4 separate regions of the Homo sapiens genome follow, and all the other regions are linked to region 3. Evidence: promoter capture Hi-C in 16 types of primary human blood cells and fetal thymus (Javierre and others, 2016). All regions are on one chromosome and are shown on one strand. Each heading gives the region's core, a stretch centred on a gene start or on the middle of the fragment in contact. The rest is flanking DNA. Distances are from core to core; before and after follow the strand shown. Region 1 holds the start of CCDC32 (coiled-coil domain containing 32). Region 2 holds the start of RMDN3 (regulator of microtubule dynamics 3). Region 3 holds the start of OIP5 (Opa interacting protein 5). Region 4 holds the start of KNL1 (kinetochore scaffold 1).

Region 1 (2,984 bases), core at 292-2,791, 770 kb before region 3:
GTGGGAGATCCAAAACGCTGGGCACCCCAGCCCCTCCTCACTTACCGTAACAGCTGCCCAGTAAACGCTTGGCTCAGCTCTGTCGCCTGTAGCCCGGAGGAAATCGGGAGGGGCGGAGTCCCCTAGTGACGGAGCCCAGGAGTCCTCCAACTACCTTCCCACCCGACGATGTTCTGTGCGTCGATTGGTCGAGAGGAGCTCAGCGTGGTGAAGAAGTGAGGAGCAGCAAGAGGCGAGCGGTGGACGGGGCTCTGGTTGCCGGGAAACGGTGGAGTCACGTGCCCTGAGCATTGCCCCTCCCCTCCCGAGGGCCAGGTTGATTCCTTGCAGATCCAGGGTTCCAGTCCCTGCTTGGATAGGGAAGTCGTTTCCAAGACTTTTGACTTTTCCTAGTCGCCGGAGCCAGTTCACCTCCTCCACAACTTTCTCTGTCGGTGTTTGTCTTCTAAAAATTTCACCCCTTCGTTACCCAAATTAGAGCACTTCGGCGGCTTCTTTCCTTACTCTCCCAGGAGACTCGTGTCTCATTCATCAAATTATGAAGCTTTCCTTCATTCATTTAGTCAATAGATACCAAGCACCTGCTGTGTTCTAAGCATTGTGTTAAGCGTGAAGTTAAGACACATATGACTTGATATAAGTCCTGGAGATCCTTACAGCTTAGTAGTGTAGGAAGGGGGTCCGCCATGGAGGCATAAAAGTTTACAAATAACAGTAAACAGTGATAGACAGCCGGGCGCGGTGACTCACGCCTGTAATCCCAGTACTCTAGGAGGCCGAGGCAGGTGGATCACCTGAGGTCAGGAGTTCGAGACCAGCCTGGGTGAAACATGGTGAAACTCTGTCTCTACTAAAAGTACAAAAATTAGCTGAGCATGGTGGCACATGCCTGGAATCCTAGCTATTCGGGAGGCTCAGGCAGGAGAATCGCTTGAACCGGGAAGGCAGAGGTTGCAGTGAGACAAGATCGCACCACTGCATTCCAACCTGGGCAACAGAGCAAGACTGTCTCAAAAAAAAAAAAGGAGGGGGGCGTTGAGGATTATAGAGTATATGATGGAAGTGTGGCCAGAGTACATAAAGGAGAGAGTGGTCATAAGAAGTGTGTGTCAGAATGCTTTGTTGTTGTAGTTGTTAAAGGAGATGACCTTTGATATCCTTCAGGGGATAGATACCAGCTTGTTCATTGAGATCGACCCCTCCCCATCCCCAGCTTCCAGGATCAACACCAGTTACTCTCTCCCAAGAAACACGTGATGAAAGACATCAGCCAACCATCAGTAGCCAAGTAACTTGGCTGAGGAAATAGTTCTCACTCCAGCCTGGGTGACAGAGCAAGACTCCGTCTCAAAAAAAAAAAGAAAGAAAGAAAAAGAAAACAACAACAACAAAAACAACATAGTTTTAGGATTACAGATGTGAGCCACTGCGCCCAGCTAAAATACAATTTAAAATTCAGTTCCTGGCCGGGCTTGGTGGCTCATGCCTGTAATCCCAGAATTTTGGGAGGCTGAGGGGGTGTGGATCACCTGAGATCAGCAGTTCGAGACCAGCCTGGCCAACATGGTGAAACCCTGTTTCTACTAAAAATACAAAAATTAACTGGGCGTGGAGGCGCATGCCTGTAATCCCAGCTACTCAGGAGGCTGAGGTAGGAGAACTACTTGAACCCAGGAGGCGGAGGTTGCGCCACCACATCCGGCCTGTAATCCTAACACTTTGGGAGGCCAAGGTGGATGGATTGTTTGAGCCCAGTTTGAGACCACCCTAGGCAATGTGGCAAAACCTCGTCTCTACTAAAAATACAAAAAATTAGCCAGTCATGGTGGCACATGTCTGTCGTCTCAGCTACTAGGGAGCCTGAGGTGGGAGGATCACTTCAGTTTGGGAAGTCAAGGCTGCAGTGAGCCAAAATCGTGCCACTGCACTCCAGCCTGGGTGATGGGAGTGAGATCTTGTTTCAAAACTTGTTAAAATTTTAATTAATTTAAATTTAATTAGCCACATGTGGCTATTGTACAGCACATGGCTAATGGTGATCCTATTGTATAGCACAGGATTGGAGAATATTACATAGTTCACAGAACCTCAAGGTGAGTGGAGAGTCAGGCTTTAGGTCTATACAGCCAGGGACAGTATCTGAATCTCACTGAGAGACTGCTCAGGGAACACCCCACAGCCACTGAACATCTATAGCTGGCATTATTCGTCGATTGGGTACTTGACACAAGAACCTCCCCGACTGTTGGCCTCCCAGATTAGATGCCTCCAATGCTACCTTGTTAGACACGGATTTCACACTGAGCCTGCTTCCGCGGCTGTGTGCCTCTGAACCAAAGCCTCTGTCTAAGAGATAGAGCCCAGGTCAAATGCCTATGTCCAAGCTGCAAGAGAGTGTGGGAAGGCTCTGGCTTCTACCTTTTGGGGGCAGTAATGAAATGTGAGAAATTCCCCACCCAAAAGAAGGGTGTTCGGAAGATGCTGGATGTTTACAGAATATGACAAATGTCTACTCTACATGGTCTATGCCAGTGCTTCTCAAGCTTTAATATGCAGAAAAATCACCTGAGGATCATGTTAAAGTGCAGATTCTCATTTAGTAGGTCAGAAGGGGAGGAGGAACAAGATTCTGCTATGTTTTCTGTCTCCACAGTTTTGCCAGGCACTAGTCCAAGTATTTTACTTGAATTAACTAATTTAATTCTCCCACCCCAATCCTATGGAGCAAAGAGGCTAGCTAAGAATACATACTTTTCTTTTGGATAAGGTTCTGCTTTCACTGTAAATATCTTAATGAAATGATGCACTTGAGAGATGATGTCCCTCCTGTGAAGTAGTTTGGTTCTAACATACCCCACAATCAATGGAGAATTCTACCTCTTATTTCTGGAGGTAGTCAGGAATCAGACTTTTCAGCATATGGAGTTCTGCAGCTGTGGATACCTCAGCTGCAGTCCCTCAGTTAGTTTGGTGAGACTAATGAC
Region 2 (3,039 bases), core at 338-2,837, 580 kb before region 3:
CACATTCAGCTTCAATTGCATTAAGCGTGCTCCTAGCCCTATGCCGTAGAAAGTCCACTGGACCAGGTGACCAGGCCCAACCTTGCCACTTAATCTGTGACAGCCTCAGGAAAGTTATACCATCTTTTTGAATCTTGGTTTCCTCATAGGAGGGATAAAAAGAAAAAAAAACTTGAATGAGATAGTTGCCAAGTTGTCTTGATAGTTGCCAAGTTGTCTTCAAATTCTAATATATGATTTAATACATAAGCCTCAAGACTTTTAATCCCTACAAGATTATTCTTTTTGCCCTCTTTTGGACTCTTCCTCTACTTATTACACACCTCACCCAACACTAAGCAAGTGCCTTTAATACCCACATAGCACTATTGTGGCCAGAACTAAAAGTGAAAGTTAAACAGTCTTTTTGAAATATACTTTCTTGTGAGTACAGGCGAAAGAGTAGAGAAAACCACGACTGCTTTTTTTTTTTTTTTTTTTTTGAGACAGAGTCCCACTCTGTCACCCAGGCTGGAGTGCAGTGGCGCAACCTCAGCTCACTGCGGCCTCCGCCTACCAGGTTCAAGCGATTCTCGTGCCTCAGCCTCCCCAGTAGCTGGGACTACAGGCCGCGCCACCACGCCCGGCTAATTTTTGTATTTTTAGTAGAGATGGGGTTTCACCATGTTGACATCTGGTTGAACGTTGGCCAGGCTGGTCTTGAACTCCTGACCTCAGGTGATCCGCCCGCCTCGGCCTCCCAAAGTGCTGGGATTACAGGCGTGAGCCACCGCGCCCAGCCCGACGACTGCTTTTTCAACAAGCTTCCAAAAAAGTGAAACCCTAAAGCACTTCTCTCCGTTACCCTGTCCCACAGTCTCCACCGAAAGCAGCCCAGACCTCAGGCCCATTAGTCTGCAGTGACCGCGGTCTCAGGAGACGGGCTCCTACCGTGGCGTCCGGGATCTGAAGTCTGCGTATAGTCCAGGGAGTTGGGCAGGCTCTGGCTGCGGCCATGACGCTGGGTCCGTTTCCATCGCTGGCTGTAAAGGAGGCACAGGAATCCAAGGCCGGCGGCGGTACCCAGCAACAGTCCCAGCCCGGCACGGGCACCACCCAGGGCTCCCAGTCTAGACATGCTGCACCTGCGGCCAGCAGAAGTCACCGGGAGCAGGCAGGCGGGCGGGCGGGCGGGGGTAAGGAGAGAGAGAGATTCGTGAACCCGGTAAACCCACCCTCAAGGCTGAACCCCGGCAGGTATCCCCTTGCCCAAACCCTGAGCTCTCGACTACGTGCACCCCAGTCTGAACCCTAAGGCTTCCTCCAGCCTCCTGGGCCCCACTGCCTCTCTTCTCACCCAGCCTGGACGTAGCCGCCCCTCCAGTACACCCCCCGACCCGGGTCACAGAGTCCGGCTTCTGGGCCTTCAACCCCCACCTCAGCCTCACGACACTGCAGACCACAAACCCGGCGCCCTGGCTGCAAACTCCTGGCCTTCCGCCGCGGCCCCCGAAGGCGCTCTGGCCTGGCAGGAGATCCACTCAGACCCTTACCCGGCCGCCAGCCACCATGGCAGCAGCCGCCGCGGGCTCACGCTGTCAGTGACCGTGACGTCAGGCAGGCGGCGCCAGGTGCTCGGCGCCCTGCGGGAAGGCGCAGAGAGATGACCGCGCCGGCCCCGCCCCTTGTCTGTTTCCCTCAGGGGCGGGGCCACGGGCGCCGCCGGAGGGGCGGAGTCAGCACAGAGCGCGAAAGGAAAGCAAGAAGGGGCCCAAGACAGGGGAAAGGCGGGAAGGCAGGGAGACTTCTTGGGCGGACGCTCGCGCAGTCACCCTCACCGTCCGGCAGCCAGGCCTCCATTTCCCTCCGGTCACACCGGCTTAACTTGCTGCTCCCGGAATACGCTCAGCATATTCACACTTTCTACCTGCGCTTCTGCCTGGACCTCCCCTCTGTACCTGGAAAACGTCACGCTCTCCCCACATTTTATTTTTATTTTTATTTTGTAGAGACTGGGTCCCGCTCTCCTGGTCTCTCAAAGTGCGATCCGCCCGCCTCGGGCTCCCAAAGTGCGTGAGCCGCCGCACCCGGCCATAAATCTTAAACCTAACGTGCTGTCTTATAATTCTGTTTTACTCTTGTAATTGTATGCAACTTCTTATAATTGTGGCAACTAAAAAGACCGATTTTATGGACTATGATAACAATTTTATTGTGAACATTTCTTAAGAGTTAAAATTTAGTTTAGTGAAAGAAATATCTAGGCCAGTCCTCCCAATACCCTTGACTAGATCTTATATTTATTTACCCTTTAATTGTGAGATATTGTATACATATAAGAATACAGGAGGCCGGCCGTGGTGGCACGTGACTGTAGTCACAGATACTCTGGGGGCTGAGATGGGAGGATCACTTGAGCCCAGGTCGTCGAGGCTGCAGTGAGCCATGATCACTCTGGGCAACAGAAGTCAGGATATCGAGGCCACCCAGGCCAACCTGGCGAAACTCCGTCTCTACTAAAAGTACAAAAATTAGCTGGGCATGGTGGTGCACGCCTGTAATCCCAGCTACTCGGGAGGCTGAGGCAGGAGAATTGCTTGAACCCAGGAGGCAGAGGTTGCAGTGAGCCGAGATCTCGCCACTGTACTCCAGCTTGGGCAACAGAGTGAGGCCTCCTCTCAAAACAAATAAACAAAAACAACAACAACAAAAAATATATTTATATATATATAAAGTATATATATATATATACACTTTATTTTGGAGGAAATAAAAATTTCCTCTGGAAACCTTCCCAGATCACCACCTTGGTGAAATTAAGCTTTTCACCCTGCTTTGCTCCTGTGGCTCTATTGCCTCCATTATACTTTTTTTTTTTTTTTAGACGGAGTTTCGCTCTTTTCGCCCATGCTGGAATGCAGTGGTGCGATCTCGGCTCACTGCAACCTCCTCCCCCGCCCCTGGGTTCAAGCAATTCTCCTGCCTCAGCCTCCGGAGTAGCTGGAATTACAGGCTTGCACCCCCACGCCTGGCTACTTTTTGTATTTTCAGTAGATACCG
Region 3 (3,349 bases), core at 19-2,518:
CTGAAGAATTAGCCCTGGCATAGCTTATTACAAACTAACCATAATCGCAAACTTAAAAGTTCTAATATCAAGCGTGGGCAACATACTAAGGCCTCTACAAAAAATTTAAAAATTAGCCGGGAGTGGTGCTGTGTGCCTGTAGTCCCAGCTACTCCGGAGGGTGAGGTTGGGAGGATAGCTTGAGCCAGGAAGGTAGGGGCTGTAGTGAGCTATGAGCGCACCAGTGCACTCCAGCCTGGGCGAGAGCAAGACCCTGTATCAAAAAGTTCTAATATCTAAAAGGATTGTAGTTTATAGTATGTTATTCTCACTGTAAACCAAAAGGTTATTTTTTTCTTTTGTCCACTACTAGATACATCTTTCTTAGCCTCACTTCACTTGTACAAGCCACCTGGGAGAAGTGGCCCTCAGGAAGATCCTAAAACCAATACACAAATACAACTTTTTCATTTCATTAATACATCAAGTTCATATAAGAGTCAAACAGGTAAAAGCAGCATCCCAAACTGTTTTCTCCTCGTACATGTCAGTTCCACGATCCTCAGTCTCATAAAGTCAGGGACTAGAGACCAATGTAATTATCAATACGTACCTGCCTTTGAGTGAACCTTCAATGCCAACTAGGAAGGGCGCTTCCAAAACGACGTTATTTGTAACTCCTAGGAAGACAAACACGGGTCAGAACCCATACTCTGCGGGCCTTGAAATGGAAAATCTCTCCTCTAGACAGACTCATCCTGGCCGTAAATATCAGGAGACTCCCCGATTCCCTGCCCCATCCCCAGGCCAAGGAGTTATTTGCTTCCAACTTTTCATCCCGTTTTCTTCCCCAGGTGGTTCTCCGCCACCCGGTGGAGAAAGCGGGAACACCCTCTCGGGCTAGCCTCTGCCTTTCCCGAACGCTTCACTGCACTCACTGGAGAAGACCACGGCCCCGAGGGACCGCGACAGGTCCCAGGCGAGGTGCACCGAGTCGGCGAGCACTGCGTGACACTGTGCGCACTGGAACACAGCGCACCTCTCAGGCTGCAGCCAAGACGGCAGCTGCGGGCCGGCGGCTGGCTCCTCAGCCCCCAGCCCTGCGGGGCCGAGCGGCGAGGACCCCTTCACCACCTGCGTATCCCACTCCATGGAGGTCGTAAAAGAAGCTTGGTCAATCGCCCTCTCAGTGCCACCACAAAAGTCCCCCCGGGGCGGCGTTGCACAACGTGAGCGATGCCGCAGCGGCTGAGCCGCCATCTTCCCGCAGCCGGCGCCTTCCTTTCGAATACACGCCAGGCCCCGCCCCAAGCACAGCTCCTGCGTCCTCATTGGACATCATGGGCAATCCAAGCACTGGAGTCCGAGTCCGCGCACTCGTTACCTGAACAGGCGTTACAGGCCCTTTGGCGCCTGCGTATTCGTGAAGTGTGAAAAAAGCGCGCCTCTGTTGGGACGGGAAATCAGCCTTTCTATTGGTCAGGGTTAGAAACCCCGCCTTTGAGGCATTTTCAACCAATGGAAGCGCGGCATTCTTCATTTAAACTGTCTATAAATTTCTGCCTAGTCAAAGTTAAGAGTGGCGCCAGGGATTTGAACCGCGCTGACGAAGTTTGGTGATCCATCTTCCGAGTATCGCCGGGATTTCGAATCGCGATGATCATCCCCTCTCTAGAGGAGCTGGACTCCCTCAAGTACAGTGACCTGCAGAACTTAGCCAAGAGTCTGGGTCTCCGGGCCAACCTGAGGGTACGGCGCTGGCGGTGCGGGTCCCTGGGCGGGCGCGGCGGGAATAGCGGCCTCGGGGAGATGCGGTGCGAAGGGACCGAGAGGGAAGCCCGGGACTGAGGCAGCTCTCCCTGCCCCTCGGGCAGTAGATGTGGTTCACGGTAGTCCCAGTTAGAACTCTGATAAACGGAAGAGGAACTGTAGTTTTCACCTCATTTTGAAGCTGGCTTGTCTGGGTGCTCACATGATAAGCTCTATTCCGAGGGATGGTTTATTGTTTTTTGTTTTGTTTTGTTTTGAAATTACTGTATACCTCTCAGGGCGTCGATTACGAAACTCAGGCCCAGAAAGCACAAGGGGTGTCGTTAATCGTTAGACAATTAAGTAAATAATTGGCTCAGCTTCTGGAAAACCCCAAACAGACTCCAGTGATTTGTAATATTGCCGATAATCTCTTGATACTTTATTGATGGACCTGTCAGAAAAAAAAAATCGACTTTTAGGGGAGCACCTCCTTGGGTAAATTTTTATTGATGACTGTTGGGTTGATGGTCTCTATCAAAACCAGTAAGGTCTTTGACTCCGAGGCTACAAGATGTTTGGAGAGTTGGCCCGGCGCTGTGGCTCACGCCTGTAATCCCAGCACTTTGGGAGGTCGAGGCAGGCGGATCACCTGAGGTCAGGAGTTCGAGACCAGCCTGGCCCTTAAAAAATTAGCCGGGCGTGGTGGCACACGCCTGTGATCCAAGCTTTTTGCCTGTGATCCCAGCTACTTGGGAGGCTGAGGCAGAAGAATCGCTTGAACCTGGGAAGCCGAGGTGGCAGTGAGCCAAGATCGCACCACTGCACTCCAACTTCGGTGACAGAGAGAGACTCAGTCTCAAACAAAACAAAAACAAACAAAAAACCCAAGATGTTAGAAGAAGATTTGGGGATTTAATGTAGGATAGCGGTTTTATATATTTTGTTAATAGTTGAGACTTCCCACATAATACTGCTATATACTCTGGAGGTTTCTCCTGCAGGCTGTGATACTGACAGTGAGTAAATGCTTAAATCAATCGTCACAATTTTTTTTTTATTTGTTTGTTTGTTTGTTTTTTCTTTGAGACGGAGTCTTGCTCTGTCGCCCAGGCTGGAGTGCAGTGGCGCCATCTCGGCTCACCGCAACCTCCGCCTCCTGGGTTCAAGCGATTCTCCTGCCTCAGCCTCCTGAGTAGCTGGGATTACAGGCGCGTGTCACCACGCCTGGCTAATTTTTGTATTTTTAGTAGAGATGGGGTTTCACCATGTTGGTCAGGCTGGTCTCGAACTCCTGACTTCCTGATCCGCCCGCCTCAGCCCCCAAAGTACTGGGATTACAGGCGTGAGCCACCCCACCCGACCTAAATTGTTTAAACAAAATAATCAGGGCCTAAGTGCCTGTTGGGGCTGAATGACCAAAGGGTTTTCCTTGGGGATATTTCTGGGCTGTAGTGGTTAGTGGCTCCTCTATACTTCGTAAACAAAGCCTTAATATCTCAGCCTAAATTCCTTAGGCTTTTTTGCTGCCTAGCTAGAATCTTTTATCCAAGGCTGCATCCCTGAACACTTGGCACTTTTATCTATCTTTGTCCCATTGCTCATTTTGACCCTCTAGCCT
Region 4 (3,059 bases), core at 291-2,790, 740 kb before region 3:
AAATCTTTTTCTGAACCAAATAACCCACTGAATTCTATCCATGGACCCCTTGGAAATGCGTGGAACCCAGCAGAAACCCTTCCTAGCAGCAGGGTAGAGAATGCATTGGAGAGCAAGGCTAAGGAAGGGTGACTCAATGTCCTGAGCCCAAGGAGGTATCAACATTCCCAACGGATTTGGATCTGTAACAGAAAGAAGCCACTGGAGCCAGCAGAGAATGGGGCCACTGCTTTCCATACTCAGTGCCCAAACCTTGCTGAAGCACCTGCCAGAGGCCGTGTTGTGGAGCATGGTGCAATGCAGACAGCCTTGTGGAGGAGACAATCTGTAAACCATGACTGCAAAAGATTGATAAATACTGATTATTAATCTACAGCACAGTGTAGGATTGATAAATACTAATTATTAATCTACAGCACAGATTAGAAGGGTGATTAAGCCAGCGTCTAGTAGATTTGGGTTACACTCTCCTTTCTTCAATTTAGAAGCTGTATAACCTCGGGCAAGCTAATCTTTCAGTCTCCTCATCTGTAAAATGGAGTAATAAAAATATTTGTCATGATCAAGGGTTATAGTGATGTAATTCATGTAAAACATGTGGTGCCTGTAGATAATAAATACCGGATAAAGTGTCTCATGGTAGCTTTTGAAGTGAAACCTGGTATCTCATAATCAGGACAGGTGTTAAAAACCCCAGAGTAACAGTCTACAATAATTGAAACTCCTCAGTTAGGAGCTGTGTTAAAGTTGGAACAGAGCAGCATTGGAACATATGGGATGGTAATAATTGTGGAATTCTATTCACTGTTGTTAACTCCATATAAAAAGAAATTAAATCCAGCATGATTTCTGATTCCTGGAAAGTCTCTTTCCCTCCCTTTTCTTTATCTGTGATGTCAGAACGTTCCAAATACTGTATTTCAACATTTCAGGCCTGAAACTGATGGTGCCAGATTAATTGAGTAATAAATAATAAGTATTCAAGTTTTTCCGCTCTGCAAATTTACTTTGGTTATTAAAAAATTTATTCTGCTCTGCAAATTTACTTTGGTTATTAAAAAATTTATTCTGCTCTGCAAATTTACTTTGGTTACAAGCAAAAGTAAGCCACCACATCGACGAGGATGGGATTCGAACCCACGCGTGCAGAGCACAATGGATTAGCAGTCCATCGCCTTAACCACTCGGCCACCTCGTCCCGGTAAGTTACTGTTTCCTGATTGCTATAGGGAGTAATATCAAGGGGCTGTGACGCAATGTTATGGAAGCCGCCATTTTGTACGGAAGCCAAAGTCCAATCACTTCCATAGCAAGCAATCGAAAGAAGATGGCCGCTCCCACGATTGTGGGGGAGGTCTCCACTGGGGAGGGGCAGAGGAAATTCGGTCGAAAAAGAGATAAAGCTGAAGGAAATAAAATTGGCACGGAGTCTGGGAAAGTAGTTTCCCTAAAGGAGTCTTAGAAATAGGGTTGGTCTGGAACCTAAGGGGCGGAGCCGACGCGTAGAGCCGCTTTGCGCGTGCGCATCACCTAGGCGGTTAGATTTGAATACTTCACTGAGGCGAGCCGGGCGTTGTGAGCGGACTGCTAGAGGCGGCTGTCTGTTTCCGCTCTAAGGAAACTCAGAGCGTGTGGACCCCAAACAAGTCTGCGCAAAATTTGTCGAGGAGGTTTGCCGCGGCAGGTAAAGAGAATGACTCTTTCGTTCTGGGCTTCAGGGAAGGCTTCGGGTTTTGTCTGGGCGCCCTGAAGTTCCTGCGGTGGGAGGTAGGGTACGCTCCCTCAGCCTGGCGGCCTCCGTTAGCGCCGGGCCGAGTAGACGCCCCTGCCCCGGGCCGGGCACACTGTGCCCTTTTTCCCCTCCTCGGCCTGTACGTTGTGCCGCCTCCCGCTTCCCTAACACTTCTCCGCCTGCACCTCGGCCCCTCCGGCCACCCGGCTCGGGTTGCTTGTCCGTCGCTCTCTTGGCGTCCTCTTCCGCCCCGCCCTGCCGTCCTCTGTCAGGGCTCGCGGACTCTTCTTGCACCCCTGCCGCTCTTCCCTAGGGACCTCTCGGCTGTTTGTATTTCTCACTTAAGCTTTTTTTGGCTCTAAATGAAGTGACAGCAATGAGTGATTTTAAAATTCTCAGCTCTTCGTGGTTTAAGGTGTCTGCTCGGAGTGCTGGCCGCACGTAACAGATTTTTCGTTTTCTGCAAGTATAATAACCTTAACAAATGAAGTCAATATTAGTACTGCGCAAATTAGTTTTTAAAAATCCTCTTCTGTTCATTATTCCTCAGGATTTAAGCCCTTATTCTTCACGTTTATTTAAATACTCAAGTTTGAGGGAGGAAAAAGTATTGCCGATTGGAATTTTACAGATAGGTTTAATAGGCATTAACAGATAAAGGATGTGGATGAAGACCAAAGCAGAAGCTTATTCCAGTCTAGATATTAAAATTGATGTTTTCACTTCCGTCGAATCCTGTAGATATTTATTGGGTTCCTTATCCTGTGATAGGGCCGGGGACAGATGATTCCCAAACCTAGAGGGGTTTACAAAGGGAAATAACTAATATACACAAATAACTAGAATACAAGACAGAATGTAAAAGATTATAGGACATTCTAAAGTGGTGTGGGAGCACGGAAAAGGGAGAGCTTATTTGATGCTTTTGGTGATGGATTTGTGGAGAAGACCGCATTTGAGGTGGACGTTGGTTGGAGAGATGATTTACAGATGGGAGTTAATATGTGGTAAAATTTTGGTAATTAAAGGTTAGGGTCAAAGCAGTATAATTCTTGACTTTGCGAATGGCTGGAAATCTTTACAAGATGATAAATACATGTAAATTGAATTAAAATGTTTGGAATGGTAGTATTAATGATGTGTTCGATGTTAAATAATAGACTGTAAAAGATACTGACTCTAGATATTGCCAGTAAAGCAGTGCTGTCCAACAGGGCTTCCTGTGAAAATGGTAATGTTTTATATGTGCACTCCAACATACTACCCATTAGCGACATGGGACTATGGAGCACTTGAAATGTCATTATTGTGACCAAAGAACTGATTA

What was found. The method cuts DNA at HindIII sites, captures the fragments that hold promoters and counts their contacts. A CHiCAGO score of 5 or more calls a contact.
Region 1: a fragment that was not itself captured here is called in contact with the fragment with the promoter of OIP5 in region 3 in 2 of 17 cell types (total CD8 T cells and fetal thymus); the score reaches 5.3 in total CD8 T cells.
Region 2: a contact is called between the fragment with the promoter of RMDN3 here and the fragment with the promoter of OIP5 in region 3, in 2 of 17 cell types (erythroblasts and fetal thymus). The highest score is 8.1, in erythroblasts.
Region 4: a contact is called between the fragment with the promoter of KNL1 here and the fragment with the promoter of OIP5 in region 3, in 6 of 17 cell types (fetal thymus, erythroblasts, total B cells and 3 more). The highest score is 9.1, in fetal thymus.

The regions. Positions count from the first base shown.
Region 1 is chr15:40,564,931-40,567,914 of GRCh38, forward strand. CCDC32 (coiled-coil domain containing 32) reads right to left here and starts at 112. Exons shown (of 4, transcript NM_001080792.4): 1 at 46-112. RefSeq lists enhancers at 511-560, 1,040-1,334 and a silencer at 2,287-2,466. The HindIII fragment of the contact is 1,999 bases long and covers 543-2,541 here.
Region 2 is chr15:40,753,667-40,756,705 of GRCh38, forward strand. It overlaps RMDN3 (regulator of microtubule dynamics 3), which reads right to left and starts at 1,588. Exons shown (of 13, transcript NM_018145.3): 1 at 1,417-1,588; 2 at 931-1,124. The coding sequence starts at 1,117. RefSeq lists a silencer at 979-1,193 and enhancers at 1,309-1,518, 1,729-1,848, 1,939-2,048. The HindIII fragment of the contact is 1,997 bases long and covers 802-2,798 here.
Region 3 is chr15:41,331,323-41,334,671 of GRCh38, forward strand. OIP5 (Opa interacting protein 5) reads right to left here and starts at 1,269. Exons shown (of 5, transcript NM_007280.2): 1 at 918-1,269; 2 at 593-659. The coding sequence starts at 1,239. NUSAP1 (nucleolar and spindle associated protein 1) reads left to right here and starts at 1,559. Exons shown (of 11, transcript NM_016359.5): 1 at 1,559-1,728. The coding sequence starts at 1,636. RefSeq lists an enhancer at 1,023-1,282. The HindIII fragment of the contact is 1,308 bases long and covers 1,147-2,454 here.
Region 4 is chr15:40,592,709-40,595,767 of GRCh38, forward strand. It overlaps KNL1 (kinetochore scaffold 1), which reads left to right and starts at 1,541. Exons shown (of 26, transcript NM_144508.5): 1 at 1,541-1,684. TRS-GCT4-2 (tRNA-Ser (anticodon GCT) 4-2) reads right to left here and starts at 1,198; the gene lies at 1,117-1,198. RefSeq lists a silencer at 1,091-1,140 and enhancers at 1,261-1,480, 1,701-2,020. The HindIII fragment of the contact is 4,787 bases long and covers 1-2,076 here.